7 separate regions of the Homo sapiens genome follow, and regions 1, 2, 3, 5, 6 and 7 are each linked to region 4. The links are contacts of gene promoters, found by promoter capture Hi-C in blood cells and fetal thymus (Javierre and others, 2016). All regions are on one chromosome and are shown on one strand. The core of a region is centred on a gene start or on the middle of the fragment in contact, and the rest is flanking DNA. Distances in the headings are between cores, read along the strand shown.

Evidence for each region. The method cuts DNA at HindIII sites, captures the fragments that hold promoters and counts their contacts. A CHiCAGO score of 5 or more calls a contact.
Region 1: a fragment that was not itself captured here is called in contact with the fragment with the promoter of ARHGAP20 in region 4 in 1 of 17 cell types (M2 macrophages); the score reaches 5.0 in M2 macrophages.
Region 2: a fragment that was not itself captured here is called in contact with the fragment with the promoter of ARHGAP20 in region 4 in 3 of 17 cell types (M1 macrophages, M0 macrophages and monocytes); the score reaches 6.2 in M1 macrophages.
Region 3: a contact is called between a fragment that was not itself captured here and the fragment with the promoter of ARHGAP20 in region 4, in 3 of 17 cell types (M0 macrophages, M1 macrophages and total B cells). The highest score is 6.8, in M0 macrophages.
Region 5: a fragment that was not itself captured here is called in contact with the fragment with the promoter of ARHGAP20 in region 4 in 1 of 17 cell types (M0 macrophages); the score reaches 5.8 in M0 macrophages.
Region 6: a contact is called between a fragment that was not itself captured here and the fragment with the promoter of ARHGAP20 in region 4, in 1 of 17 cell types (M1 macrophages). The highest score is 6.5, in M1 macrophages.
Region 7: a contact is called between a fragment that was not itself captured here and the fragment with the promoter of ARHGAP20 in region 4, in 3 of 17 cell types (naive B cells, M0 macrophages and M1 macrophages). The highest score is 6.6, in naive B cells.

Annotation. Positions count from the first base shown.
Region 1 is chr11:111,217,142-111,221,192 of GRCh38, forward strand. No RefSeq gene overlaps it. Among named protein-coding and RNA genes, the nearest start is that of POU2AF2, 27 kb to the right of the region's middle. The HindIII fragment of the contact is 5,885 bases long and covers 1-4,051 here.
Region 2 is chr11:111,106,117-111,109,648 of GRCh38, forward strand. No RefSeq gene overlaps it. Among named protein-coding and RNA genes, the nearest start is that of LINC02550, 11 kb to the left of the region's middle. The HindIII fragment of the contact is 486 bases long and covers 1,373-1,858 here.
Region 3 is chr11:111,147,968-111,151,567 of GRCh38, forward strand. No RefSeq gene overlaps it. Among named protein-coding and RNA genes, the nearest start is that of LINC02550, 52 kb to the left of the region's middle. The HindIII fragment of the contact is 1,750 bases long and covers 1,336-3,085 here.
Region 4 is chr11:110,709,664-110,713,779 of GRCh38, forward strand. It overlaps ARHGAP20 (Rho GTPase activating protein 20), which reads right to left and starts at 2,774. Exons shown (of 15, transcript NM_001384657.1): 1 at 2,464-2,774. The coding sequence starts at 2,568. RefSeq lists enhancers at 993-1,638, 2,621-3,122 and silencers at 2,646-2,705, 2,726-2,885. The HindIII fragment of the contact is 6,153 bases long and covers 1-4,116 here.
Region 5 is chr11:111,201,061-111,204,592 of GRCh38, forward strand. No RefSeq gene overlaps it. Among named protein-coding and RNA genes, the nearest start is that of POU2AF2, 43 kb to the right of the region's middle. The HindIII fragment of the contact is 3,110 bases long and covers 276-3,385 here.
Region 6 is chr11:111,125,112-111,128,659 of GRCh38, forward strand. No RefSeq gene overlaps it. Among named protein-coding and RNA genes, the nearest start is that of LINC02550, 30 kb to the left of the region's middle. The HindIII fragment of the contact is 2,345 bases long and covers 840-3,184 here.
Region 7 is chr11:111,171,324-111,174,894 of GRCh38, forward strand. No RefSeq gene overlaps it. Among named protein-coding and RNA genes, the nearest start is that of POU2AF2, 73 kb to the right of the region's middle. The HindIII fragment of the contact is 6,572 bases long and covers 1-3,571 here.

The DNA.
Region 1 (4,051 bases), core at 1,508-4,007, 510 kb after region 4:
CAAAATTGACAAATCTTTCACCAGGCTAAACTAAGTAAAAGAGAGAGAAGATCCAAATAAATAAAATCAGAAATGAAAAAGGAGACATTACAAGATATACCACAGACATTCAAAGGATTATTAGTGGCTACTATGACCAACTATATGCCAATAAAGTGGAAAGGCTAGAAGAAATAGACAAATTTGTAGATACATACATGCTATCAAGATTAAACCCAGAGAAAATCCAAAACCTGAACAGACTAATAACAAGTAATGAGATAAAAGTCATAATAAAAAGTCTCCTAGCAAAACAATCTACAGATTCAATGCAATCCCTATCAAAATACCAATGACATTCTTCACAGAAATAGAAAAAAAAATCCTAAAATTTATGTGGAACCACAAAAGGCCCAGATTGGCCAAAGCTATCCTAAGCAAAAAGAATCAAACTGGAAGAATCACATTACCTGAATTCAAATTACACTACAGAGCTATAGTAAACAAAACAGCACAGTACTGCCATAAAACAGACACGTAGACCAATGGAACAGAATAGAGAACCCAGAAAAAAATCCACACACCTACAGTGAACTCATTTTCAACAGAGGTACCAAGAACAAACAAGTAAGTGGGAGTCACTGAAAGAACTGCCAGTGGTCAAAGCTGGAACAATCTGAGTAAGAAAATAAAGTAGTATTGGATTATAATCCAAAGTATTAAATAAATATCCATTAATTCATACTGATATAAATGATTGAATAAATAAGTAAATGGCAGAGAAGAGGCAAATCTCTAGGTAGGACTCCAAATAATTTATGTAGATACTCCACCCTCAAGGGTGGACATAGTGACTTCCTTCCAAAGAGTACAGTATGGAAAGGGAGGATACACTAGCTTCACAGTGGAGAAATCTGAATAATACCTTAGCTAAGTGATCAAGATTAATATTAACAAAGATAAATCGCCCTTGATTTTAAATACCCTTGATATGATGTGACGATAATGGTACTTTACCTCTGTGGTCTTTCTCCCAAAAAAACTATGACCCCAGTCTCATCCTGAGAAAAACATCAGAAAAGTCCCCATCGACAGACATTCTACAAGATACCCAACCAGTATTTCTCAAGACCGTTAAGGTCATCAAAAACAAGGAAAGTCTAAAAAACTATCACAGCTAAGAAGAGCCTAAGGGGGCATGGCAGCTAAAGGTAATATGGTATCTTGTGTAAGATCCTAGAACCAGAAATGAACCTTTGGTATATACAAATGAAATCTGAATTAAGTGTAAATTTTAGTTAATAATAATCTATCATTATGGGCTCATTAACTGTAGCAAATGTACCAAAGTATAGTCAAGTGTTAAGGAAACTGGTGTGGGATATGTGGGAATTCTCTGTACCATCTTCATAATTTTTCTGTAAATCTAAAACTTATAAAAAATAAATTTTACCTAGAAAACTACAAACCTAATGATGTGCATACTATTACTACTCCCACTTTATAGGGGAGGAAACCAAATCATGGAGAAAATAATTACCTCCTCACAGCTGCCAGAGCTGGGATATGAACCAGTCTGATTGCTGAATCTGTGTTCCCACCCACTATACTCCACTGCCTCAAAAAGGAACTTGCTTCTTTTTTTTTTTTTTTTTTTTTTTTTGAGACGAGTCTGGCTCTGTCGCCCAGCTGGAGTGCAGTGGCGCCATCTCGGCTCACTGCAAGCTCCGCCTCCCGGGTTCACACCATTCTCCTGCCTCAGCCTCCCGAGTAGCTGGGACTACAGGCGCTCGCCACCACGCCTGGCTAATTTTTTTGTATTTTTAGTAGAGACAGGGTTTCACCGTGTTAGCCAGGATGGTCTCGATCTGCTGACCGCGTGATCCACCCGCCTCGGCCTCCCAAAGTGCTGGGATTACAGGCGTGAGCCACCACGCCCAGCCGGAACTTGCTTCTTTCCCCATGTTTACTAAAGGCTGTAATGACATCAGGGAAAGGGATCTAGTGAGCGCTTTCTCTCTTTCTCTGCTGGTATCCTCCCCACCCACTACCAGCTTTGGGCCAGGAAGGCCGAAGTAGAAAGGGAGCCGAAAGTACTGGAAGTTCCTGCTTGGCTGGTAACTGGAAACGACTGTAAGTTGGCATCAGGCTCTCTGGGTCCAACATGCTTAAAGCTGAAGGTGTTTCCATGGGCTCTTTGGAGGCTGCTTGTGGGGCTCCAACCAAGGTCCCAAAAAGTAGGTATTTTTCTCCATATCCCCTCAGCTCTGGCTCTTGGCAGTTTATGTCCTGCCAGGCTGTTCTCTAAGGCAGGACATAAACAACTCTACCCCATCAGCACCAACAGCTGAAAGTCCAGAGAAACACACAATACTAGACTCTCTACTCTCTCTTTGCTGCCATAGCAGCCTTAGATATCTGAGGTGTTCTCTACCTGCAAGGAACACACAGTGTGCACTTTTAATCACCTGAAGCCCCTCTCCTCCCCCTCCCCTCCCCTCCAATTAGGCTGGCAGGGAGGAAGCAGGTGCATTAACACACACACACTCTCTCTCTCTCTTTTTCTCTCTCTTACTCTAGGGTCAAAGCTCAGCTTTCTCTAGTGAAATCCTGTGCACAAAATCTAATCCTCATACTTTGCACTTGATCTGATTTAGGTGATCCAAGAATCGTGGAACCATTCTTTTTTTTTTTTTTTTTTTGAGACAGGGTCATGTTCTGTCATCCGGGCTGGAGTGCAGTGGCGCTATTTTGGCTCACTGCAACCTCTGCCTCCCAGGTTCAAGCAAACTTCCCACCTCAGCCTCTCAAGTAGTTGGGACTACAGATGCATGCCACAACACTCGGCAAATTTTTGTATTTTTTCTAGAGGCTGGGTTTTGCCATGTTGCCCAGGCTGGTCTTGAACTCCCAGGTTCTCACCTTTGTCTCCCAAAGTGCTGGGATTACAGGCATGAGCTGCCACACCCAGCCATGGAACTCTTCATAACCATTGCTTTAGAAAATCATGTATTATTTTTCCCACATCTCATTTTGGCAAACCATATCTATTACCTTAGTTGAAACTTGAACTTTAATGCCCTGGGCTTTTTTTATTGTTATTGCTTTTTAACTGTTACTTTAGGCTCAGGAGTACAGGTGAAGGTTTGTTACATAGGTAAACTCATGTCATGAGGTTTGTTGTACACATTATTTCATCACCCGAGTATTAAACCCAGTACCCAATAGTTATCTTTTCTTCTCCTCTCCCTCCTTCCACCCTCCACTCTCAAGTAGACCCCTCAAGTTGTTCCCTTCTTTGTATTCATAAGTTCTCATTTAGCTCCCACTTATAAGTGAGAGCATGCAGCATTTGGTTTTCTCTTCCTGCATTAGTTTGCTAAGGATGATGGCCTCCAGCTCCAATCATTTTCCCACAAAAGACATGATCTCGTTCTTTCCTGAGTTAATGTCCTGTTATGTATGTATATAAGCACATATTCAGGGACCAAGAAATACTTGTGAGATAGCTTAGTCATTAGACAATGCTAAAGATAAACCTATAACTTTTTATGTTACCTCCCTAACTAGATTATAACCTCCTCTAGTGTTATAGTCACATCTTCTACATTTTTGCAGTGCATACACACATACACACACAAACACACAGGTATAGAAACATAATTCTATCCTAAAATTTACTCAAGAAATCCTGGTAGTTGATTTGATGATGTATCTCTGTATACTTAATTCTACAAAAGCAATCAAGCATGAATCTGAGGTTAGAAACACATACTTTGGAGCCAGAACTTGGACTGCTGGGTTTCCAGCTAAGTCACTAGTAACCACCTGCAAAGCTGGCTTGGTTTATCATCAGCCACAGATTCAGACTAGCCAACCCTGAATATTAAATCAATGGAATGCCAAATCTTGCATCCAGAGCAAACTGAACACCCAAATATACATCATAATACATCATCCAGGTCAAATATTGTTTTTTACCTTATAATTTAACTGAATCTGTAAAAATAATATTATCAACTGGAAGATTAGCTCCTCTAAAATTGGCAGCGACAGAGCTTAAAATTCAGGT
Region 2 (3,532 bases), core at 366-2,865, 400 kb after region 4:
GGAAGAACATTAAGAGGGGAAAGAGCAAATCAGTAAATTTTAACCTTAGGAGGTAGAATGCTCAGCAAGAGGCCTGGGATATGTAGCTTTCAGGGTTCAGTTATGAATTCAATTATGCACCCCATAATTCTTCATCTAAATCATTAGCTTACAGTCTCAATTGTCATCAGACACAGCAGGCATTTGGAACTTAGGTGCTTTGGGGAGAAGAGCAGACATGGTCTTTCCATTTGGCCAGCATCAGAATCCCTTCCTTTACTTAGGGAATTCCCAAGGCATAAGACAGAACCTATTTCTTGTTGTAGAAGCTAAAATTCCCTGACACTATTATACTTTACCCAGGCTGGCTTGCAAGTAAGGCAAAGGCACATGTCCTAGGCTCTACCAAATAGAGACACACACCCCAGTCTTTGAATTGAGCAATAAGGATGGAAAACTAAACAAAACAAAATACCACAAACAACTGTTGCTGGTGGCAACAATAGTAAGGATGACCAAGTCTGTAAAGTTTCAGTGGCAACCATGCCAGTGCTAGTACCCAGCACCCAGTGTCCAGCAGTATAGACAGGGCCAGCTGCAGCATTCATGCTCTGTGGAAGCAACGATGTTGTCCCTACAAGAATAGATGGATGATGTGACTAGCCAGGGCATTTCTCCTGTCTGCACAGCTTCAAGCTAGTTCTCCATCATTACTACTGATTCCATCCGCTTCACAGCATCCTTTCCCCACCACAATTTCTGATTTATTATCTGTTAGATTTGGAAACTGATCACATGAAACTGCAAAAATATCAAGTGTCTAAAATTTTTACATAAAACATGAATTACCTCTAGTTCCAAACTCATGAATTTATTAGTGTCCCTTTCAATCAAAAATAAAAATAAATTCTTTTTAGGAAAGAAAGCAGCTGCCATATCCCATTCTCAGAACACATCATTTAATTATCTTGGTCATAAACATTTCCAAGGTGAGAATTTATATTTCCCTCCCGTAGTTTCTGATGATCAAAAACCCCTTGTGTTCTTTATTGAAAGGGTTTGGTCTTGCGGCTGTTGGTTTGTCCCATCCAACGTTCATCATCTTCAGCTTTGCTTCTAAAGACATTTCCTCTGGTTCATTAAAAGCTGCTGCTTCTGAACACAGTTCTGGAATGATAGAACAGTCTCTAGACTTCCTTGGTCCTAATGTGATGGATATGACTAAGGCTTCCTTTGTTGTAGGACTGCCTATGGCAAATCCAAACTTAATGGTCTTTATAAACTTCGCTGGAAAGTCTCCACTTCTTCTTCAGTTGGTTGCTTCTCAGTGCTATGACCACAGTATTTTTCTCCATTCACCCTTGTTTTTATAAATTTATTTGCATCTTCTTCAAGCTTTAGTGAAGTTGAAACAACTTAACCAACATGAGCTATTTTTACTAAGAAGATTAATGGGAACAATGGCTTCAGAAAGCATTGTTATAAGGAAGTTACCTCTGCAGTTCTCACCTCCTAATGCAACAATACTGTCCCACCATTAGAGAGTATACAACAGAAATTGAAATTGTGTGGTAAGAGAAGCACTGTGAATGAACTCTGGTCACCCCAGCTCACTGTGTTTTCTCTGGCTTCTCCTTTTTACCATCCCATCACCATTTTCCTCTCCACTTCCTCTTTATCAGCCTAACTCTTGAATTCAGTTCTTTGCTCATATCAACCAGAGTTGGTCTCAGTGTAGCACTACAAACCCTTATTGATATGATGGAGATGATGAAAGAACTGGAACTATACTACCAGCTTCTTACAAAAAAAATTTTACTTTCAAAAATGACTTGCTCAATATTTTTCACAGAACAAATATGTTTCCAAATTAATATGAAGCTTGATTTCCAGCTTCATAGGAACAATCTTTCCTACTTTCAGGACCTTCTAGTGTAGTCTCCTCATTAGATCTGTGAAAACACCACTTTTCTGAAAGGACTAGCTCTATCATAAGTGTACTTTGCTTTTTAACATAAATTTATTATTTCATTATTCTAGATTTATGTGAACACAACACAGTGAACTATTTGAATGGACATTATAATGCAATACTAAGGATACAAGTAAAACATTTAATCCACTGCCTGACATACAGTGTAGTAGTACCTACTAACTTTTAGATTTCTTATCATGAACATACATGTAAAGTGCTATGCAACTATCCTCAATGGTTGTATTAAGTTCTTAGGGGTAGAACTAAATTCTTCTCATCATTTAAGACTCAGAATTGTTGCCTCTTTTACCAGAAAGCCATCCCTGATCTTCTCAGGCTGGATTAGGCACCCATACTTCATATTTCTATAACCTTGTACATAGGTCTTTCTTTGCACATAACCAAAAGATATTCCAGTTATGTATTATGTATCTGGTTTCCCCATGAGGCTGTGAACATCTTAATAGCATACAGTGCCTAGTACATAGGCAGCACTCAGTAGCATTTTGATAGATGATTGAATGCACTCCAGAATAGAAACAGAAGGGAGCTTATTGCATCCAGGGAGTTGCACATGGTTCCGCTGGCTGTGGCATTAATTTCAGAGAGTGCAAATGGTGTTCACCACGCATGGATGGTGACATAAACCATGCAAAGGAGCTTGGGTTTTATTCTGAGGCCAGTGACTTCTTTTCCAGAAGGAAGGGATAATGATCACATTGGTGTTTTTGAAAACTCATTCCGGGTCGCAGTACAGAGAAGAGATGAAAGGAGACAGGACTCCAGGGAGAGGCTGGAAAGTTGCTTTAGTATCTCATTCTCAAGAAAGAAACTGGAGCCAAAATGATAAAATCAACAATGGAAAGAAATTAATTACAGAGATATTGAATAGGTAAATCTGACAGAACTTGATGACCCATTAAATATTGAGGAATCAAGGATGTCTCTAAGTTTAAAGTTTGGGAAACTGAGCGAATAGTGCAGAGAGAAGAGAACAGGTAGCCTTAGGAGGGAAGGTTGCTATTTTAGAACCATTATGTTTGAGAGGCCTCAGGAACATGTGAGTAACCAAGTCCAGTAATTGGTTATTTAGGTTTATAGATCAAAAGACAGTGTTAGGATAGGGTTATCAAATTAAATTCTAAAATCTGTTCAAGTAATATACAGGCTAAAAGTTATGATACTCTGTAGAATACCAGGAAATATAAAAAATAAGCCTACCAATAATAAAGTGTTTAAAAATTAAATAGATACTAGCTTATATGATATTAAACAAGTAGCATCAGACACAATTTTAAAATACATATGTGGGAGAAAAATCTATTATTCTACCCATCAGCTTAATTTTTTTCATGAAATCTGGGGAAAGTTCAACATTGTTTTATCTCAACAGCCACTGCATACTACATAAGTTCATATAAGACCACTATACTAAAAGTACTGGACTGCTAATATTGACAAGCCCACTTTAATTTTTTTTAAAAAAACCTTATTTCTAAAGTAAATAGATGTTAAGAGTGCCTGTCTATGTTTCCAAATGGTTGAAGGTAACATCTTACTTTATATGCACCCCAAAAT
Region 3 (3,600 bases), core at 961-3,460, 440 kb after region 4:
CTACCTTTACCATCAGAGGGCAGAAACTTAAACCCAAATATACCAGCTATTCTGTTCTAAGCCTAAAAAGAATATATATTCGAGAAATGGATCTCCTCATATCCCCAGGCTTTTTTATCCTTATTACTTTTTAAATTAAAAGAATTTCATTTTGGCTTTCTTTATTACTCCTTCACGAATCCATTCCATTAACACTTGTTAAGAACATTCCATGTTCCAATTGCTAGTGAAGGGCTAAGGAAAAAAAAAAAATCCATGAGCCATTGGTCCTGCCCTGCAGAAGCTCTGTTCATTTGCAAACTCCTGGGCGAGCCCAGGCAGAAAGGCATGTCTGTTCACCGTGTATTTTGTAAGAGTCCCACCAGTCTAAGCAGACTTGTTTATTTAACTGTCTTATATAGCTGCATATTCTAGGTCTCTAGTTCTGTCTGGGCTTAGGTTTCCATAATTCACATGAATTTTCAGTTTCACATTTCTGTAATTCCTTGTATCAAATGAAAACATAGAAGCACTCAGAAAAATAATAGCTCACATCTTTGAAAAATGTAAGAAAGTGGAATAGCAATAAGGAAAAAGGCCTTATTAATACCAATTTTATTATCTTAGCTCTATCTTAAATAAGTGGAAGTGGGTACTAAGGAATGGATTTGGCTTTCTAGAAACAGATGTTACTCTCATTTGGGTACTAGAGTTTAACAACTGCTTTTGGAAGTACCAAACAATGTTATCTAATTTCTTTATGAAACCAACACTTTTTAATAATTATGGACCAGGAACTGTGCCAGACACTAGTGATAAACAGATAAATGTGACCCAGTTCCTATCCTCAAAGAACTGTGCTTATCAGCTACCTCCTAAGGCAGTTCATTATTCCTTGTGGCTTCGTAAGTGTTGGTACTTACTACCTCCTAAAAATGTATCTCACCAGACGACATTGTCAGGATGATAATGCATCTCTACCCTAAGCCCTAGACCAGAATTACTCAGGAGCTTACAGAAATCTGGAAATAAAAACAAGTAAGCAAGGGCATCACACTGCAGGCTCTAATTGAGTCCATAGGAAATGTGCAGCCTGCCTCTTAATTTGGAAGCCAAACACAGATTGCAAACACTTACAGGAAGAAACAGTTTTTGGAGGTTATAGAGGAAAGTGATGAATGATGAACAAAATGTGATTTTGAGGGTTGTGAAAGGCCTGGGGAATGATGAGTCACATCATCCTGATAAGATGTCAGAAAACCAGATTTGACTTTTCTAACACTTCCTCCCTAAAAGGCCTAGAGAAAGGAGTGGTATCATTCAATTCTATCAGCACTGTGTTCATAATATTTAATAAGCTTTCATTATCCTCAAACAACCCTTGTCAGAGAAACTTATGGCACAAGGAGAAATGGAAAAGAGCATTGGTAGCAGACTGTTTATTTAGAATCTTGGATCATTTACTTAATTAACCTCCTTGGTCCTCAGTTTCCTAACTTACAAAATGTGGATAATTTGGTTGTTTGGATTCAATGGCATAATGAATGTATTGCACCTAGATAATGTATGTAGAGCACATTGCCTGGATCAATAAATGTTGACTGCCTAACAAAAAGATTTTAAGATTCACGTGAGGCATGCCTGAGGAGATATTTGTGAAGCTAATGGCTATACTTAACAGCAGTCAGAATATTTTGGCCAATAGCAAGTAAAAAACAGATTTGTAAATAATAACGGTTGGAATATAAGCTAAGTGTTTAGGTGACAGGCAAAAGTCCCAGAAATAAGAAGAGAGCATTGCACTGAACTCAATACATCCCCCGAGAGGGGCTGTGTAGTGGACAACTCTTATTCTTTGTGGCCATTCAGGACCTTTTGAATATCCTTCCTATGGCCACAGAATCTCCTTGCTTGTGAGAGCTGCCTCCCAAGAAAGAAGCCAGGAACTTACTTGTCTTGCTTCCCTTGCAACTAGAAAGCAAGCATGTGACCTGAACTTAATTGATAAGATGCTTCTGAGCAAGATCCCAATTCAGAAGAGAGTGTCATAAAGGGAGAAGTCACCATTCAGGATCTAGTCAGGTGAAGATCGAGAGAGATCCATATTTCAGAGGAAGTAGCATCTGGAGAGGAGCAGAGACCCTACTGGAAGCATTCTTAGCCCAGAATTCATGAGGAATTGGAAGCACCTGTGCCAGGTGAGCACCGAGGTAAGGGCTCTACAGGAACAGCAGGTGGAATGATTTGGGTGATGTTCCTGGCTACATGGCTGCCAAGCCTTACTCTACAGCCCTTCCAGATTCTATAAGTTATCTCATTGCCTTTTCTGCTAAACTAACTAGAGTGCATTCTGGATATTTGTGACCAAGTACCCTGGCTGACATATGTTCTTTAATAGACTTCTTGCCCATGTGTAGAATTGCACCGTAAACAGGCAGTTCAAAAGGAAATGTGGGTAACTGCTCCTGCCTAGAGAAGGGAGTAAAGGAGAGAAAACTCTGAATCTGACCCTCTGAACACCTCTCAATCAGTTTTCCTTTGATTCCATTGACTTGAATCAATCTTTTATTGACTTCTTGCCAAAGTTGACTAGTTTTATGCTACCCATGTAAATTAGATGTTTTCATTTATATTCTCAAGGCTGACATGACTATCTGGGTGTGTCTCATGCCCTTGATATAATCCTCCCAACTTTCGTTCAGCAGACGTTACTTGAGCCCCTGCTATAAGGCAGGCAGTGTTCTAGGCATTGGAAATATAATAATAAACAACAGAGATAAGTCCTTGTCATCATAAAATACAGTGCAGTTTAATGATATACGTACTACACAAACAATACCACAAAAAGCAAAGCATTATTAAAATTAATAACCAATAATGTGTTAGGGTGTTAAAAAATAATAACACCAATAATGTGTCTGAGAATTATTAAGGAAAGGCGTAGGGAACAGGAGGTATATTTTAGATTGTGTGTAAATCCCTTTGTGAGGAGGTGTTATTTGGGCTGAGACCTCAGTGATGATGCAGAACCATCCATGAGAACATCTGAAGAACATCTTCTTCCAAACAGAAGTAGCAGTAAGTGAAAGTTCCTAAGATAGATACAAGCTTGGCAGGCCCAAGTCTGAGTTGACATATTAAGGCTGAGGTACTAGTAAGTCATCAAAGTGTATCTGTCCAGCAAGAAATTGCATGCATGAATCATCTGAAGCATAAAGAAGTGGTCGAGACAGAGAATATTGTTTGTATCATCAGAACACTGGTGGTAATTAAAAAACAATGAGAATTGATGAGATTACCCAACCAGAGCAAGTACAGTGAAAAGCAAATGGGGTCAAGGATGGAACTCTGGACAACCCAAATATTTAACGGGCCCATAGAAGAGAAGGGATCTGTGAAAAGAGAGAGAAAAGTCCAAGAAGGAGAAGGAAAATGAGTATTGTGTCACAGAATTCAAGAAAATGGGATTTCAAAAAGTAATAAGAGGTTGCAGGTTAGACAAACGTATCCCTTTTATGTCAAAAAAATGTAAAAGGGTGTGTGGGTGTGTGTGTGTGTGTGTGTGTGTACACAAATAGAAAATATCTGAGAGTTGCTTATAAAGAAAATATTAATAGTGGT
Region 4 (4,116 bases), core at 1,524-4,023:
AATTTGATGACTTGAAATATGAAGAGGAAGAAGGCCCATGTGGTTGGAGAATACACAAACAAGGGGGGGATGCATAGATGAGGTGGCAGAAGTAGACAGGGCCAAGAAAAAGGGGTCTGAATTTTATTATAAATGGATGAAAAGCCACTGCAGGATTTTAAGCAGGTAAGCAACATGATTAATTTACATTTTAAAAGATTATTCTGGTGCAAAGTGGTGACTGGATCAAAGAAGGGCAAGAAAGGTGTTAGGCAAGTTAAGACATTTCTGCAAAGGTACAAGTGAGAGATGGCGGCTTGGCTTGGACTACACTGGCAACAGTGGAGATGAAGTGGAGAAATTCAAGACACGTTCGGATTGACAATAGCTTCCCTGATGGATTGGTTGGTGCAGAGAGAGGAAATGAGTTGAAAACGAATCCTAGATTTTTGGCTTGAACAACTGGGACACAAAGGTATGAATTACAGATATAGGGATGTTGCAAACAGTAAGTGCTAACATTTATTAAATGTCTATTATATGTCATTATTCACTGAATTTCACATTTAATCTTCCCAACGATGTTGGAAAGGTAGGTACTGGTTTGTTAATGTGTGAACCTGTTAAGTTTCATAACAAACGACAGCATCTTAAGGACGGTGGCTATGATAAGTAAAAAGAATGTGGGAAAAGAGCGAAGCAACCCTTCATTTATTGGACAAGTATTACTTGATAAATGATAATAAAGCTCCTCTTTAATGCTTCCTCCCTTTGGCAGTGTTATACCCTTAGTAAAAAAAAAAGAAAAAAAGAAAAAACTGTTCAGAAAAATAAATCTTTGATTTTCTTCCAATTCCTTACGTTTACAAAAATAAAATGCTTTAAGTTTTAAAATTTATGTCAGTAAATGTAGGGCTAGCCTGATAAATTCACGTTTTATTTGGGAAGACTTGACTACACACACACACACTCCCTCCATCTCCGAAGGGGAAAAGCGACAAGGACAAACCGCAGCCTCAATACATCAAAGGCTGAGCTGGCACTACAGCCCATACATCATCAAGTTCACGGACACCCCTAGATGGCTCCGTGACACGGTCAAGGTCCTTGGGAACTCCCACACATTTCTATACTCGGCACACCGATCACCTCTCTTCAACTGACCTCTAGCCAACCTAAGATCCTGGTGGGAAGATTTATGAAAGGCAGTAAAATCAAGACAAGCAGGGAACCTGCGTAACCCCTTTAAGTCTCTAATGAAACAAATGCAATCCCTTAAGATATTTCTTAAGGAAAAGCTAGAAGATGCCTCTAATCGCAACTTGTTTCCAGAAAAGCTGGAAGGGCACCACTAAGACAAGGCAAAAAAAAAAAAAAAGGCAAAATATCGGAAAGTCTTATGCTGGAAGCGGGGGTGGGGAGGCGGGGGACAGGCAGACAGGGCTAGAAACACCCAAATCAATTCCTCAGGGAGCGAAACGGCAGAGGCCGGCAGCCCGCGGCCCACGTGCACTTGCTCAGGGAACCGTTCCAGCGAAACCTGACCCGGATCGGAATCCTCCCGCAGCACAGCGGCCGTGTTTATCGGAATGGAACGCTACAAGTTGTCACCTGCATCCCTCTCCCAGCTTTGACAGGGAACACGCGCTGCCCCCACGCCCACACCGACACCCGGATCCCTATCCAGCCCGGCCAGAGTCCCAGGGGCCAGGGACCAGTGCAGGGAGAAGGTCCCCCACCTCAGCCCTCAGGACCCCCAACCACAGCCCACCCGCCCCCACCCTGCTCGGTTCTAGGCCCAGCCGAACCTACATGTCCCCGTAGTGTCGAGCGTTATCATCCACAGTCGCCCCTCAAACTGTGACCCCCACCTGGGAGACCCGGAATCATCCAGGACCCTGGTGTGGGGGGCAGTACTCCCCATATCTGCCCCCCGAAAACTGCTATGGAGCAGCCGCGCCTCGGCGGGCAGGTGAGGGGGCCGAGCCCACCAGCGCCGCAGCCCCGCTGCCTACCTTCTTCAGCGCCGGCTGCCGCTCCCGGGCAGACATCGCCGGCCCTGACTTTGGGGCTGACACCGCCAAAGGGCAGTCAGTGCTCGCCCAGGCCACTTCGGGAGGCCCAGGGGCACGGCGAGGGGTCGGGGAAAGGCGATCGCCCACTACAGCCCGCGCGCCTAGACTGAGGGAGGAGCCGGGCTGCAGAACCGGCGGCGGATGGAGACGGGAGGGAGGCTGCGAGGTCGCTCGAGGAGAGACTAAGGCTCTAGAAACGGAGAAGCGGGCGCTCTGCGGGAGGCGGCGGCGCTGCCGCTGGCCGTCAAGGGCGGGAAGTGTTCTGGGACTCTCATTAGGGGCCGCGAGCCTCGAGCGTCAAATTCCCGCGGCGTCCGCCTAGCGCGCTGCTGTGGCGGGCGCGGAGGGCGCGCGCCGGCAGTGGGGGCTGCGGCGGCGGAGGGCACGGGCCCCCGCTCAGCGTCCTCACCTTCTTGGTGCAGCTGCCTCCCGCGAGCCGAGACACTCCTGTCAGGGAAGAGGAGCGCCCCGGCTGTCCCCCTAGAGTCTCCTGCTGGGGGGACATCGCTTCCATGAAGAAAATCTTCAAACAAATCCCAGCCCAGGAGGAGGCTACACGATCATGTCCGCGGGCTGCCGGCCGGAGGGGCGAGGACGCGCGGGCGGAGGCGCGGCTGCCGTGCTCAGGCAGGGAGCCGAGCTCCGGGTGCTCGCCGCGCGCCTCCCGTCGGGGCCATGTACCTCCGCCTGCGCTCGACACCGCGGGCTGGAGGCGAGTGCAGCGGCGACAGCCCGTCAGCGCCGCGGCCCGCCCCGCCTCGGGCCCGCCCCCTCCGCTCCGGGCGCCCTGCGCCGGGGCCCGCCCCCGCAGCCCTCCTCAGCCCTCCTCCAGCCTGGGCCCTCCTAGCCTCGTCCCAGCCTGCGGCGCGCCTGGCGGGCGTCTCTCTATATATGTTAGCACACCGGCCACCGGCTGACCTTTTCGGTCTGTGACTCCGCGTGGGTGCAGCCCGCAGGAGCTCATCGGCCTGTGTCACGCACGGGGGCCTCTAGTGCACGGACACGCGCCTCTCCCGCCACCTGCCCACTCCCACCAGACCCCATCCCTTCCCGCGCCGTGCCCGCGGCGGAAGGCGCCCCTGCAGCGCGTGCATCCGCGGAGCGGTGGCGACCTCAGCCTGAGCAGAGGAGTTGCAGTGATTCCTGCCTCGCTTTCAGCGGACTGCGGAGGGAATCCCCCACCCCACCCCACTGGGGATAGGGTGGCACGTCGCAGAGTGTCGCAGCTGTACAAATTTGGAAGCCCACAGCATCGCCTGACCTCTTGTGCAATCCCGAACGCTAGCCTGTTCGGGTAACCCTGAGTGGGCTTCTGCAGCCGGTCATGTCAGCGGCCCCTGCACATTTGCACCCGCGGTTTCCGCTGTCTGCAGGCTGCAGAGACGGGGGCATTCCAAACGTGAAAGAGCAATGAAGGAAAATGCAGACAGAGCGAGGACGCCGAAATTTGGCTAAGCTATTGAGAAGGCTACAATATGTGGAAGTGTTTATCAGATATCTGCGCCGAGAGCATAACTTCCTGTCAGCCCAAATAGAGGCAAAAATATTTTAAAGGCCAAAGAATAATCAGAGGGAGAGGATTTGGAGCTGACCCGCGTTGAGCTGAGTGTTGCTGCACTTTGCGGGGCTGGTTGACTGGTACGGATGATTCGGTAGATGGCATTCTTCCCTTGGAGTCAGGACTAGAGAAGCAGTGGCGGATTAGTGAGGAAGGACACCACGCTATGATATTAGGTTGTGGAAGGGGTTTGGTTTGCTTTTGTGGTAAGAAGAAAAAAATCGAGGTTCCTGCCAGGTTAGGCTGTTATTAGGACAGGTTGTAGAAGAATAGGGCTCTGGCCGGCTCTGTTCCAAGGAAGGGATGCTGTCCAACACACACTCGCGCGCGCACACATCACCACCATGCCCAGGAATGGTTTATTGTGGAAATAATAGGGGGAAAATGTTCCAGCCCGTTTTAAGCCTTGTCCACCTCACACTGTTTAAAGTAGGCTTACATAGGCTTTATAAATCACACACACGTATAAATCACACACACGTATAAATCACATGTATGATTTGT
Region 5 (3,532 bases), core at 581-3,080, 490 kb after region 4:
CTAGAGGTTGGAAGGTCCAAGATCAAGGCACTGGCAGGTTCAGTGTGAGGGCTCACTCTCTGCTTCAAAGATGATGTATCTTCACATGGAGGAAGGGTTGGAGAGGCAAATAGGCTCCCTCAATGCCTTTTATAAGGGCACTAATCCCATTCATGAGAGTGGAGCCTTCATGACCTAATCACCTCCAAAGGCCCCACCTCTTAACAACATCACCTTTGAAATTAGGTTTCAGCATATGAATTTTGGAGGGATACAAAAATTCAGACTACATCATAAGCTTCTGGTTTGTGTTTATTTGTCTGGAGGAGCTGATATTAAATTCTTACCTCCTGATTCAATTTTTTTAGGTTTTTTTGGTGGTGTTTGTTTTTGTTTTTTTGGTTTTTTGGTTTTTTTTTTTTTTGTATTTTGTTTGAGACAGAGCCTCGCTCTGTTGCCCAGGCTGGAGTGCAGTGGCGCGATCTCAGCTCACTGCAAACTCTGTCTCCCGGGTTCAAATGATTCTCCTGCCTCAGCCTCCCAAGTAGCTGGGATTACAGGCACATGCCACCTTACCAGTTAATTTTTCTATTTTTAGTAGAGACAAGGTTTCGCCATGTTGGCCAGGTTGGCCTCGAATTCCTGACCTCAAGTGTTCCTCCCATCTCAGCCTCCCAAAGTGCTGGGATTACAGACATGAGCCACTGTGACCAGCCTCAATTTTTCTGGTAGTTTTAGATCTATTCAGATTTTCTGTTTCTTCCTAAGTCCGTTTTTTAAATTTTATTTTTCTAGATAATAGTCTATTTCATATTTTAAACTTGTTGTCACAAAGTTGTTCATGGATGTTCTTTTTGAAAATACCCACTGCATCTATAGCTTTGTTCCCTTTTTATTCCTATTATTATTTGCTCTGTCTTTGCCATCAGAATAAACCTTGCCAGAATTTTATCTAGTTTATTAGAGTTTTTAGAGAACAACTTCAATTTTATTGAGCTATATACTTAAGATTTGTGCACTTCCGTGTACATTTCTTATAACTCAATAAACTTTTCCTAGAGAAAAAGAAAGGAAGGGAATGCTGAACATAGGATTCAGAATGTTAACTGCTTTGAGTTGAGGGAGCCAGAGGATGACTGAGACTTAGACTCCTTTAGACTTAGAGTGCTACCAGGGTCCTAGCTTTTGCTTAAAGTCGTGGTTTCATGATTCCTATTACATCATTAAAAATAAATACACAATTAGTCCACGCACAGACTAATGATGTCTCTGTCATGGGCCAAAGATTATAAGTCACCCAGTTCTGTGAACCTAGGGTCCAAAGGTTTGGTAAGGAGGGCTACTTGACTGGCGCAACGGTGATACGGCATCGGTGCCTTCCAGCTGTGGCAGATGGTGGAATGTGCCTTTTCTTTCTCTCCTGAAATGCCCTCTGGGTTTCTCAGAGTTTCCACTTCTGACAACTTACATCTGTATTTTGCTGCTCTGAGCAACCCTTCTCTAGGGGCCACTCGAGAGAACCACAGACCCTTGGTGTCTGGATTCTATATTCAAAATTTTCCTGCTGGAATGACTCCATTCTTCGAGGCAAAACCCTTTCTCAGATTCTCCCCACCCCATGATCAACATCTGGCCCACAAGAACATTCACCTTTACCCCCATTCTGTGTAAATGTAGCTTCTCCCATTGTAACTACTATTTTCCCTCTGCCTCAGAGCATCTGACCAGCCTCTTGACATTCTATGTTTCCAAGCATAAATCAGATACCAGGCATAAATTAGGACATTCCTACATCTCCCAAATTACAGATGATATGAGAAAACGTTCCGAGTGGTTATATATTTGAACCCTACCCCCAGCCCCATTTGGTTGACTGAAGGGGAGGAAACACTTAGCTCATCTACAACTCTCTCACTCTAGAATTCCTACTTATCAACATTGAAACCTCCCTTTGCATACTCGGAGGGCACTTCAAACCTCAGCTTTACAAGTTTTACCTGTTCTTCATAGGCGCTATAACACAGGATGTTCTCAGCCTTGGGGGACCTGTCAAAATTCTAAGACAAAAGAAATTGTGAATTTGACATGCTTTTACCTATATTTGGATTGTGAGTTCATCTTCAGTATGGTCTTATTTATGAGAATTCGGTGCAAACTACTTTAAGCACTTGCCCCTCCATGGTACCCTCCCATTGCCATGGTATTACTGGCTCAGGACAAATTTTTATGTTAATTTCTTAGCTGATGGCACAAATTCAAACCCCAAGTCAACAGGAAGCACAGGCTTGTCATTAAAAATTCTCAGGAAATTTTTCCACTCATGACAGGCAGTCTAGTCTCTCTTGTTGCCTCTCTGTACCTATGGACTATTTTCCTAATTCGTCCTTTTATTGACAGTATGGCCCTTCAAAGGTCTTGCTTTTATTCAAGTGTCTCAGGTCTAACTCATCCTCCCCCCTCATTTAGGCCAAACACTCATTGTCTAACCCCATATGAATACTAAAACACAAATCCCTAGATTACAGAAACTGACAACCACCAGCTCCTCAACCCTAGCCCTAAGACAAGGAATATGCTTCTTGATCTGGATTTTTTTTCCTCTTCATTTTTGGAATGAATTTCCCTTACCTTCTTCTAATCATGGCTCTGCCTGTAAAACAATGCCTGTCATCATTTCTTAAGAGCTGACAGGAAGCTAACTCACTCCAACCAATGATTTCCATGCCCCATAACCAGCCAGTCTGTTAGTGCTCAGTGTCTCCTCTCCATAAGACATCTTTCCTCTCACCTGATCCTCTGCTGCAGAAAACCCAGAGCTCCCCAGTTCTGCTTACTTGCCAGGGGAAGTAAACACCAGTCTTCCCACACCCAAACCAGGCCTGAAGGTCCTTGTTAGAAATTAAAATGCAAAAGAATCCCTCTCTCTCTCACCAAAATGGAGCAAGGCAGAACAAACCAGGTCATCAGTGTACACTTTCAGCTTCAATACAGTCCTGCCACTCTCTTTCCTACACTCCAAATCTTACCCCTCACTCAAGGCCAAACTTAGGTCTCAAAACATCTGTGGAGTCTTTCCCCAATACTGGAGCCCACACAAATGTCACCTTTACCATAACCCTATGGTATTCTTTATGCTACCTGATTATGTCTTGCCTCATACCATCCACTGTTTTGTATGTTAAACATATAGAAATTTAGTAATTTGCTTAGGTTTTATAATACATTGCATTCCTAGTCACAATATTGTTATGAATTGAATGTTTGCTCCTCCTTCCCAAAATTCATACATTGAGATCCTAATTCCTAATGTGATGGTATTAGTAGGTGGGGACTTTGGGAGGTGATTAGATCATGAGGTTGGATCCCTCATGAATGAAATTAGTGGCCTTATAAGGAAATATACCAAAGCTTTCTCTCTCTGCTCTTCTTTCTGCCCATGTGAGGACACAAACAGAAGATGGTCATCTGTAAACCAGGAATCAGGCTCTCACCAAAACCCAATCATGCTGACACCTTGATCTTAGGTTTCCCAGGCTCCAGAACTGTGAAAACA
Region 6 (3,548 bases), core at 762-3,261, 410 kb after region 4:
CCCAGGAGTTTAAGAGAACAAAGATTTATTTCTTCCTCATGTAACCTCCATGGTGGGTCTCACTGACCCTTTAGGACAGGTATTACCCACAAGGTGATTCAAGGATTCAGGCTGCTTCAATCTTGTGGCTCCATCAATTCTATACAAGGTTCCCTCCTCAATAGCAGAGGAATACAGCACATCAGGATTTCACACCTGCTCCTCTGTGTTTCAGCCTGGAAGTGGTGAGCATGCCTTCTGCTCATATAGATTCATTGGCCAGGACTAGTAACATGGCCTCACCTTCTGAAGGTAAGGCCAAGTGATTAGTTGCCTACAGGAAAAAAAGTGAGCTGAATGTTGGGAAACATTAGTAATGTCTACTGCAGTCACTTGTCCCTTCTCCAGGCAAATGGGCAAGACAGTAGAAATGGTTGTACTCCATGCACATAGTTTCAGCCTTGCAGTTTTGTACAGAAAGAATGGCTTAGAGATATTTACTCTGGAAGGTATATGTTAGAGCTCCCTGGACAACTTCCCAGGACACACCCGAAACAAAACATGACTATAAGCTTCTTAAAAGTTATTTTCAAACTTAATGACAGTGTTATTTCTTAAAGAGATAGTCCACAAATTTATGAAGACCCCATAGCTGTAGCTTGCCGAAACTCATACCAAGTGAATACATAACCTCGTCCCAAGAGCAAGGGATTATTTAATTAGCTTCCTTTAGGGGTTGTATTGATTAAACGACTCAGTTATACAAAACACTCATGACCCCTGGTTACCTATATCTGATACTTATTGGTTCCCACAATTTGCCAAGTATTAGAGAAGGTCTTCTAGAAGAGATAGTCTTAAGCTTTCTTTATCATGTTGATTTCCCACATTATGAGATTATCCTTGCCTCCAACTGGCACTGGGCAGTCATAGCATTAAAACTCACACTATGGGTTAGTTTTGGTGAGTGGAAGGGAGTGGGGGAAAGTTATGCTAACTCAATCATGAGTAGTGATAAGCACCTGCCCATCATATCACCTAAAGTGGTGCTATTACTGTTCATAGCATCTGCTTTCTCTAAACTCCTCTTATGCATGGGATCCCATTACACAAACTTGCCCTACACATTAATGACATCCACATTCAACACTGTCTTCATCAGCTTCACTTCTCTATCTTCTCTTAGTAGTGGCTCAGTAATTACTTAACATTTTCTGATATGTTAACATCCACAGGAAGGGTTCTTCTTGGGCACTTAGGGGATTCATGAAAGGACTTCTGGTGGGGGATATAATCCTAGGGTGACCAACTGTTTCAGTTTTCCTGTCCTGGTATTAGAACTGAAAGTCCTGCATCCCAGGAAACCCCTCAGTCTGGAGCACACTGGGACGGTTGCTCACCCTACATAAACCCAAAGAAATTATGTGGATATTTTGGTGCATGTACAAATATACATTTTCCTAGAGAGTCCAGGGGCTTTATTTACATCCTCAAAGGGCTCATAAAAAGTGAATAAAGCCACCGATTTCCAATACTGTGGAAGAGCAGAGGATTACAAACTTCTAATACTCCTTCTCACTCCTACAACTCCACAAATGGCAGCATGATTCTATCTCTGTTAGCATTAGGATTAATCTGCAAATAATATGGACAGTACAGAGGACTGTGCAAATACTCATTTTACTTCCATTACTTATACTCATTCATTTATTCCACAAACACATGTTGATACTGACCTATACCCAGGCAATAGAGAGGGAGCAAGATGGTTTAGTCCCCGCTTCCCCCAGCTTACAATCTCAATGGGGATTGAGATTTACAACAGTAAAGTAGTAACACTTACAAACAGTAAGTAGCGAGGAGATAAACACATTTTTTTTCAGACAACAATGGATACCATGAAAAATAGAAAGGGTAATGTGATACGTAGAGATTGGAAGACGCATACTTTAAGGAAGGTGGTTAGGAAAAGCCTCTCTAAGGTAGGAACATTTGTGCTGAGGTCCAGTGAGTCATGCAGAGATGTGAAGAAGGTTGTTCAGACAGAGGTGGTGCAGAGGCAAAGGCCTTGAGGGAGGAATGAGCTACAGAAAGAAGACTGGTGTGATGGGAACATAGAGAGAAGCAAGTGCAATGGTATCAGATGCAGTAGAAGAGATAGAGGCCATGCAAAGAGTCTGAATTTCATTTTATATCCAGTAGGAAGCAATTGGAAGTTTTTTGAGCAGGGTAGTGACCTGATCTGACTTCCATCCTTTTCACAATCTTCCTGGTTGCTGTGAGGAAAAGGGATTACAGAGAACAAGAACAAAAGCTAGAGGACCCTTTCTTCCAGGTGAGAGAGAAGAGTGCCTTGGACTCAGGTGTAGGCAGTAGAACTGCAGGGACGCAGTCTGATTGGAGACATATTCTGGAGGTAGAGACAACAGAACTGGATACTGGGAATGAAGGAGAAAGGACAATCAAGAGTAATTCTGTCATTTATTTCTTAAATGCCTGTCTCCCCTTCGAGGCTGTGAGGGCCTTCCTGGCCAGAAGGGTACCTTTCCATGTGCTTCACCAACTAGCACAGGGCTTGGCATATGGTTCTTCTTTATAAATATTTGTAGGTAATGAATGGATAAGTGCCTATAAGACAAATAGTATTTGGTCTCTCTGCTCCTGAACACAAAAGAGAAAGGGGAAATGGGGTGAAGAAGAACTCATAATGTTTGTAGTTACAGCAGCAGCCACTGTTCTAACCAGGTTATAAAAACATAATTCCTGAGATCTGGTCTCAGGAAGATGGGAGATAGAATGAATCCTATGCAGACATAAGAAAGAAAGATGACCTGGGAGAAGCACTGTGCTTCCTAGGAAGTACCAAATGCTACTCCACACTGGCCCACATATGAGGTTCCTATGTTGACCTATTTAGTGTTTCTGAATTGCTCAAAGGTGACTCCTTATGTTGTCCTCCCCATCTTGTTTCCTGTCTTCCCTTCAAGGGATCTTTATATATTCTATGGATTATCTCCTGACAATAAGATTATCTAATTGCTCTTCTTTAACATTCTCCTTCAGATCTGAAAATGTTTCCCTGTTTCTCTCTGCAGACTTTGGCCAGAAGAATTTTTTTCCTACATTGACTCATCTAGTTCCTACTTGTTTTACAACATGACAGCCTAAATTTGAACTAGGAGATTTTACATATAATCTTCAGGGAAGCTTCTTCATTAACATTTTTAAGCAAGCACTGAAGAGTTTTCTCTCATCACAACAGATGGTGGAGTTATTTTATAGGTATGAAAATCAGTGCTTCATTTCTCAACAACAGTAAGGTCCTCAGCACTGAAATATTTTAATACTTTGTTGTGGGCTTTAAGCACAAGTCCACAAACGCATTTAATACTTAAATCATGCCCAGTGCCTGGCACATAGTAGAAGCTCAGTAAAATGGCTATTGAATAACTGAATGAATGGATAAATCAATCAAACAAAGCATATTTTTATGCAGCCTATAATTAATTACATCATTTCAGCAGACATGTCTGCCAGGCCTCCAACATCTTTTGAATTGGCTACAGATG
Region 7 (3,571 bases), core at 785-3,284, 460 kb after region 4:
TACCAAAACCACACATTAATCATTATGGGTCTTCAGAAAAATAAACTGATAGAAAGATTTAAATATAGATATAGAAAAAGGGTGACTTAGCGGCAAAAACGATCAGATCATGATGAAGCATTCAGAAGATATTTCAATGGCAGATCCATCCATTCAATGTGTAGGCTATAAATTATGTTTAATCCATTGAAGAATCACATCTAATCTCCTGTGCCTCTCTGAATCATTGTGACAACTTTCTGTTACTTTTTGTCTCCTCCCACGGGGCAAAAAGCTACCCAAAGGCAGGGACTTGGTCTCATTCACCTTCATGTCTTCTGCCTCTGGTAGAGAGGTAGTCTCATAAGGAACACTCAAAAACTGTTGCTGAATGAATGAGTACAGAATCTTCCCCAGAAAGAGATTATAAATTAGTACTATTGTAAGGGAGGTGACACATATTATAATATCTATAATACAAGGTAGAAAATAATAAATTTTATAAAGGAGGTTTAAAACAAAGTACAGTCGATTCTCATTGTTAGCAACAAGAGTTATGGCCCATAAAATTGCTCTGAACACTGAATTAGCAAGCACTAAATAGTTGCTCCTAGGAGAAATACAAGATTAGGTTCCTGGGAGCCTCTGCCAGTTGCGTTATATAGGTTTGTTTGAGAACTTCCTTGTAAAACAAGCCAGTCTCATCAGCATTGAAAACCTGCTCTTCCACATAACTCTTTCCCTGAATGATATTTAGCAACTATTTTTTAATTTTTTTTTTCTGAGACAGAATCTCGCTCTGTCACCCAGGCTGGAGTGCGGTGGCACAATCTTGGCTCACTGCAACCTCCGCCTCCCAGATTCAAGCAATTCTCCGGCTTCAGCCTCCCGAGTAGCTGGGATTACAGGCGTGTGCCACAACACCTGCTAATTTTTGTATTTTTAGTAGAGATAGGGTTTCAATTCTTCTGTAGCCTTCTGATCTGTAGAATCTGCCTCATCTGCAAGTTTAATAACTTTCACACCATATCACCTTTTGGAATGTGTGAACCAGCCAAGCCAATGCTAGCCAAAAATAGTGTCACATTCTCCTGATCCAGGGAAATGTGACCATAAATTTCTTTGGCTTCCAGTCTCACAACTCTGCTGTCTGCTATGTGTTTTTTAATCAGTTATCATGTCTAACTGCTTTTCTGCTTTTTCCATAGACTCATCACACACTACAGATGTTACTTTAGCAACCTCCACAGTGGCCCAGATTAGCGAATATCTCCTTTCTTTTTCTGGATGTACTGTATTGTTGATTCATCAACATTGAATTCATGGCCAACATCATATAACTCATGCCTGAAGGAAGCCTATTTAACATATGCATTTTCTCACGAGGCACATCACAGCCTTCTTGTACTTAGGAACACTAGACAGCACGGGGGACCATTTTAAGTAGCAAAATTACTAACAAAAAGCATCAAAATGCAAAAAACATGGCACTGAATAGACTTCCAAAAGGTCTTTTATTTAACATGAGAGCAGAAACAAAAAGGCAGAGTGTGGCCCTGTTTGACCTCAGCTGGGAACATGAGCATTTAGGCAACTCAGATTTTTCACCACTCTATGCGTGTCCACATATGACCTCAAACGTGCCACAAATATTGATCTGGAGTTTATAACCAAATTTAGCGAGTAGGTGAATTCGCAAATATAGAATCTAAGAAGAAGGAGAAGTACAGTGGGGATGAGTTCCGGAGGAAAGAAAGTCCTCTCAAAGGATTATTCTGAGATTCAAATGAGATCATCCATATAAAGGATTCAGCATCATGCCTGACAAACAGGCATCAATAGATTCTTATTCTCTGACTGGTCAAATGAGGTCACACCTCAGAGAGGAGGGAACTTTGAACTGGCCCCTGAAAGACAGATTCGAGACACGGATATGGATGGATGAGAAGAAAACTATTCAAGGCAGAAAGAAAAGTATAAGCCAAGGCAAAGAGGCAGGATATTAAAGAATGTATACAGGGGGAATCAAATGGCCACAACCTGGCTGAATCCAACACTGTATAAAGGAACTTGGTAAGAAAGAATTTGAAAAGGCAGGTTGGGCCAATTTACAGAGGGCCTTAAATTCCAGGCTGATGAATCTGGACACAATATAACAGGCCACAGAGCAGTCTTGGTGTTTGTTAAAGAGGAAAGTAGTGCTCAGAGCTGAGTTTCCAGAAGAATAAGCTGAGGATGGCATGTAAAAGTAATGGTGGTGTGGGGGCAGGAACTCAGGAAACCACTCGGAAAGTAAGAGTATCACTGATTGTAATATTCTTGTGGTCATTTTGTGATTTTGGAAGAATTGGATGGGGGTTAAAAAGGAAGAAAGAGGAAGGGTTTCAATGAAATACCTTCCCAAACCTCTTGACGAAAATAATTACTTGAGTCCTCATCAGTAATACAAATCCGCAGGCCTCAACCCATACCCTTGGGATGTGAATCTCCAGCACAGTGGTCTGGGGAACTGTCTGTCTGCCAGCCCCTCAGGTTGTTCTTTCCATCAGGGAAGTCTGGGAAACACTGTTTCTGAGCTACAGAAACTGAGAACAGCTACTCTACATAACCAAGCTGAGGACAAGAGAAATACCTAGACCCCATGTTTCCAAGCTCCAGTCTTCACCACTGCTGACTTGTTTTCTCAAGCAATTCTGTGCTTCCCTAAAGAAGCAAGTATGCTCACTCACGTGGAGCCCACCACCCCCAGCCTGGTAGTGAGGGAGTGCAATCGGTTTCATTAATAAAGCAGCCTCAGAGAGGAATTTCATTTAAAAACAGAGACAACTAACTATATTAGTTTGAAATAAGTTCTGTACTTTCTAAACTCTAAATACAAATTCATTAGTTTTTAATTCTTTTTTAAAAATCCAGATTCCACAACTCTATGAACTGTTTAATATGAATTCCCACTACAAATTCTAGAGCAGGAATACAAGGTATTTTCTATATTTACATTTAAGCAAACAGGTGTGAAGCAAGTAAAATGTGTTCAGAATTGCTTTAGACTCTACTAATGAACTGTGAAGATTTATTTTATGATCCGTGTCATAACGAATTCTATGGAGCACTAACAGAACCAAAAGGAAGACTTACAATTTTCAACAGTAGATATTAGATGGTTAAGACATCCCAGGAATCCAGTGTGTTTTTAGTAGATGTTATTAACACATTGTTGAGTAGGTTACACTGTATTGAAGAGGGCTCTAGAAAACAGACAGTGGGCACAAAGCTACACTGAGGACTGCATTAGAATGTATGCTTATTATTTAAATTTCCCTGAGATAATTTATACACTATTCATTTCCAACAAAAGATCAAGCGAGGCGTGGTGGCTTACGCCCTGTAATCCCAGTACTTTGGGGGGTCAAGGTGGGTGATCACCTAATGTCAGGAGTTTGAGACCAGCCTGGCCAACATGGTGAAATCCCGTCTCTACTAAAAAGACAAAAATTAGCTGGGCATGGTGGCACATGCCTGTAACCCCAGCTACTCGGGAGGCTGAAACATGAGAATTGCTTGAACCTGGGAGACGGAGGTTGCAGTGAGTCGA